Regions from separate parts of the Homo sapiens genome. Here region 2 is linked to region 1. The links are contacts of gene promoters, found by promoter capture Hi-C in blood cells and fetal thymus (Javierre and others, 2016). All regions are on one chromosome and are shown on one strand. The core of a region is centred on a gene start or on the middle of the fragment in contact, and the rest is flanking DNA. Distances in the headings are between cores, read along the strand shown.

The links. The method cuts DNA at HindIII sites, captures the fragments that hold promoters and counts their contacts. A CHiCAGO score of 5 or more calls a contact.
Region 2: a contact is called between a fragment that was not itself captured here and the fragment with the promoter of NR5A2 in region 1, in 1 of 17 cell types (megakaryocytes). The highest score is 5.1, in megakaryocytes.

Annotation. Positions count from the first base shown.
Region 1 is chr1:200,026,404-200,029,103 of GRCh38, reverse strand. It overlaps NR5A2 (nuclear receptor subfamily 5 group A member 2), which reads right to left and starts at 1,394. Exons shown (of 8, transcript NM_205860.3): 1 at 1,193-1,394. The coding sequence starts at 1,256. The HindIII fragment of the contact is 3,447 bases long and covers 1-1,948 here.
Region 2 is chr1:199,860,880-199,863,579 of GRCh38, reverse strand. No RefSeq gene overlaps it. Among named protein-coding and RNA genes, the nearest start is that of NR5A2, 170 kb to the left of the region's middle. The HindIII fragment of the contact is 5,888 bases long and covers 1-2,700 here.

The DNA.
Region 1 (2,700 bases), core at 145-2,644:
CCGACGAAAAAGATGCGAAATGGTTGTGTGCTGCTCTCTCATCTTTCTTGTGCCTGTATTTTCTGTGTTATCTGCAGAACAATTGATTGTGTGTTACACCCTGCTTACCTTCCCCATGTTTTCTTTTTCGTAAGTATAGAACATTTTTGGTAAACATTTCCTCAAGTGATATACTTTAGGGTGTAGTTGGCCCATAAAAAAAGCAATCTGTGACTCCACTGCATTCTGTGGAGTCAGCTGACTAGGAAGGAAAAAAGAGGAAAAACTCAAGCCTTGATTTTCTTTCTTGTTATAATGGAGCTGAGACTCAGAGAGCTCATGACAGGCCCCTGCAAATTCGGAGGGAAATTCCAGTCTGAAAGCCTAGGCAAATGCTGCCAGAAAAGGCACAGGTCCTTCAAAAACTGGGGAAAGGCAGAAGGGCCTGACTTCCAACAGACAAATAATTACAGATCACTGGGAATCACTTCCCTTCAGTCCTTTACTTTTAGAATTAATTGAATGTAGTCTTGCTATAAAATTCATAAGTTTGTAACTCTATTTTTTAAATGAATAGTAGCTTTATTTACTTATTTCTGTTTGTAAAAACAAAATATACTAATTGTTGCGAGAAACAGTAGCTCTTCAAATCCTTTACTAATGATGGTCTAGTTTTTTTGGTTTTTTTTTTTTTTTTTTGGAGGTGGGGGCATGACTTTCATTCCCCAGGAAAATAAAATGAAAATTTTTTACGGTATAAGCAGAGAATAAGACACCATACTTTTGTGTGGGTTGAAAAGTAACAAATACTTGACAGCTATCTGTTAAAGTTTGATCAATGATCACTCAATATGATTAACTTGTTTCAAATTGTTCAAATTTTAGCTTATTATTTCTGATTAAAAATTATCAGAAAATATTAAAGTTGAAATTGATAAAGTATAAATTATATTTTCTGGCTGATTAGGGTATTAGAATGACACCAGTAAACACTAGATATAATGAATAATATTCATATGTTGAAATATCCATTTGCTTTTTTTGAACTGCAAGAAAGATAAATGTGTGATATATATACATAGGCTTATTGTGTGCTTTTAATAAACATAATAGGAAAAGCCATGACTTAAAATGCAAAATCCATCAACAAGATTAAATTATATGTATGTAGTAGCAGAATAAATAGATGATCAATAGAGAAACTCCTACTTACCAATAGGTGTAAGTCCGTGCTTTAAAGACTCTTGTAAATCCCCAGTATCTGAATTAGAAGACATTCTTAGTGAAATTATAGGCAGTTCTTTGGCTTAAAGCAGAAATCATTGAGCAAAAGAAAAGTGCAGCTTGTCAAATTTCGTGGCCTTGGGAAGGACACATCAGACTACAGTAACCCTTAGTGAAAGTTAAGAAAAAGCAAAGGAAAAAAAAAAATCCAGAATTCATAAAGTTACAAGCAAGTCTTTCCCTGGACTCTGTACTTTTTCCAACATTAGTGACCTGCTGTAAACCATGTATCCAGTTTCATGATGGTTTCTAATCAGAAGAATGGAAACTTTTGATAGGCTTTGACTCATCACATGACTCTATGCAGGTTGATAAGAGGACCCTGTTATAAAGTGACAGCAAAAGAGATAAGAATTCTTGCCAGATAATGGCAAAGAAATGATTAACTCAGAAGTGGAGAGGTGCTATGCAGCACAGAGAGTGGAAAGTTGTAAAACTGAGGGGTCAGAAGATCAGACTTAGTGGATAAAAACTGCAAACCAGCTAACTAACTTAGGCTAACTAAACTTTGGCTTGTGACATACCCCTTGATGTCATCACCTCTTTGCATAGAGGAGGACAGACATAGCTCTTCTGACCTCTGTAAATACATTTTAGATGATAACATTGGCAGACATTAATTCTTTAAGTGATGACTACAAATGTGATCGACACTCTGAAATACTACAGGTAGCATTTCCAAGCTTATGGTTATTTATTTATTCATGTTGTGGTCAACCAACTTTTTTATCGGGCCTATTCATTAGATGAGGAGTTAACCTTAGCTTGTTTCTACATTGGTCATATGGCTAAAACACAATCTATCTCTTTATCCCCAAAAGGTAAAACTTATGCTTTGAGATTAATGCTGGCAAAATGGTGAATATGTAACACATTTTTCATAGTTATAAAGTTATTATTCTTAGGCTGGGCATGGTGGCTCACACCTGTAATCCCAGCACTTTGGGAAGCCAAGGCAGGCGGATCACCTGAGGTCAGGAGTTCGAGACCAGCCTGGCCAACATGGTGAAACCTCCATCTCTACTAAAAATGCAAAAATTAGCTGGGTGTGATGGTGCACTCCTGTAATCCCAGCTACTTGGGAGGCTGAGGCGGGAGAATTGCTTGAACCTGGGAGGCAGAGGTTGCAATGAGACGCTGTTGCACTTCTCTCTGCAACCCTGGAAGAACACAATCCAAGATCATGCCACCGCACTCCAGCCTGGGCAACAGAGTGAGACTCTGTCTTCAAAAACAACAATAACAACAAAATAACAATTTTTTTTTTTTGAGATGGGTTCTCGCTCTGTTGCCCAGGCTGGAGTGCAGTGGCACGATCTCGGCTCACTGCAGCTTCTGTCTCCCGGGTTCAAGCAATTCTCCCGCCTCAGCCTCCCCAGTAGCTGGGATTACAGGGGCACACCACCATGCCCGGCTAATTTTTGCATTTTTAGTCAA
Region 2 (2,700 bases), core at 66-2,565, 170 kb after region 1:
AGAACTACCACATGTATGGTAGACAGCTTGATATGAACTAATATCACATATGCATAAAAGACAGTCTAACTTTTAAAATCATCTTATGAGAAAAATATATATTAAAATAAGCATAAAATGAGGCAGTGCATGGAAACTAAGGTCCATCTCTTTTTTACACTTGAGGGACTAAGACACATGGAGTGGTCCCTGTAGAGCCCATTCCCCACACATTATAGAGTCATGTGAGATGTACCAAGGATAATTCCTTACTGTACAGGAGAGAGACAGTTACTGAGACAGTTCGCTCATTTATTGTTACTTCATTTCTGTCATTTGAGGACCAAGAACACATAGTGCTTGCATTTAAGTATCTGATAAAGCAATGTGGACAGGAAATTTGTTTTATGAATTGTAGGATGGAAAGAAATTAACACATGTTGAATGCCTCCTTTGTGCTAGGTACTTTCATATTCCCATTTAATTTTATTTAAAAAATTCTATACTACAAAGTAGTATTCTTTATACCATAAAAAATTAGGAAACCAAGGCTCTGAGAGGTTAAGCAGAGGGCCCAGTGTATCTCAGCTAGAGGTGATGGAGCTGGTGTTTGAACTTGGTCTCTGGACTCCCAGTACCTGGCTTTTTACATTATCTTACTCTGCAGGAGATAAAAGTGCTTGTAACATTAAGCCACACCATGCCTCGGTTTCCTAGTGCACTGTAGGCATAGGGACCTGGCCATTCTGCTGTGGCTACTCCTGGAGTACATGTATCTCAGTTGCCTGTCTCATTTCATGAGAGCTTTATAACAAGTAAATGTAAGCTATGTTAAGTAAAAATAAGAGGCTATACACATGAGTTTGAGAAATTGCTGATATATTTAAGGTTTAAGAAATTTAGGACTAAAACTCAAAAATTATTCCATTGCTTAAAACTTAATATGCTATAAGGAATCTTGATCCAGATTCTTCTGGGTTAGCATGCATATCAAAAGAAATGCCTGATTATAATAAATCAACTTTTGATTAATATAGCAAAAATTGAAGCTCAATTTTCAATGTGTATGCAGAGTTACTAATTAATATACACACTAAAAAATAGCACATTTAAAAAAATAGCACGAGCCATGTAATCTTGATTTTTTAATATTTCAATGTGGAAAATTATTTTTCACATTTCTTTTTCTGCAGAGATTTTCAAATATTATGCATCATTTTAGACTTAGTTATTGTATATGGATTAAGATCTTTTGTTTTCTTCTTGAGACCGGGTTCCACTGTAGCACTCAGGCTGGAATGCAGTGGCAAGATCTTGGCTCACTGCAATCTCTGCCTCCTGGGCTCAAATGATCCTCCCACCTCAGCCTCTGAGTAGCTGGGACTACAGGCGTGAGTCACCACACCCAGCTATTTTTTGTAGAGAGAGGGTCTTACTATGTTACCCAGGCTTGTCTTAAACTCCTGAGCTCAAGTCAGCAACCCACCTTGGCCTCCCAAAATGCTGGGATTACAGGTGTGAACCACCATGCCTGGCCAAGATCTTAACTTATGGATAAATTCTTAACTTTATCTGACAAAATTGGTTTGCCAGAATGCTCATTGGTGATATTTAATGAGGGTTTACTGTGTATGCATATGCTTACTATGCATATGCTTTGTGTGAATTGTCTTTCTGAATCCTTCCCAACCCATGATGTATTTGGTGTAATTATGCCCATTTTACAGACGAGAAAACCAAAAGGCCATCAGGCTGGCAAAGAGGGGTGTGTGACATGGAACCCAGTATTTTGACTGAAGTCCATGTTCTTATATGTGCTGTGTATCTATAACATCACTGTGCAAGAAGTTAATACTCAAAAAATACTGCACATAAAAACATTACCCCAAAAAGGATAACAGTGGGAAATAGGCTAATATTCACTCCTACATCTCATCCTCTCCCAGGGCAGTGTTGGCTCATGTTCTTTTTAATTCTTGGCATTCTCCTTGAGGTTTTCTGCCCCATGGGTATTGTATAAAGACCTCCTCCAACTAGAATATTGCTGGGGTGGCATTCTGCTTTGTGTAATGCCAAAGTGAAGGTTTCTATGAAGCAGATGCATGCTTTTTTGGGAGAGACCACGATTTCTCCTGAAAGAATGCCACTGGTGGGTGACTACATGGATTCTTTGTCCCCTCTGTTGTGCCCCACTTTGGGAGAGAAGCAAGGATGGGTCTGTCAACCAGGGAAGAGGAGGCGACAGCGGCACAGTCTCTGGAAAAGTGTTGCTGATAGCCTATGGTGTGGAGAAGGGCAGGTTTGGGGAGTATCAGGAGTAGAGGGAAGGAAACAGGCTATCATATTTCTATAGAAGCAAAATGAGCAGCAGGGCTGACAGCCTTTGGCAGCAGGAAATCAGACATTATTTCTGGAGAGAACTTCCTGTCCCTAATGGGTAAACTTATCCACTTCTCACATTTCCCCACTTGTACTAGGGGCTTCCTAAGAAATAAATACTCTTTTTTTTCCTTTTCTTTTCTTTTCCTTTTTTTTTTTTTTTTTTTTTTTGAGACTGAGATCACTGTTGCCCAGGCTAGAGTGCAATGGCATGATCTCAGCTCACTGCAATCTTCATCTCCTGGGTTCAAGTGGTTCTCCTGCCTTAGCCTCTCAAGTAGCTGGGACTACAGGCATGTGCCATCACGCCTTGCTAATTTTTGTTATTTTTAGTAGAGTCAG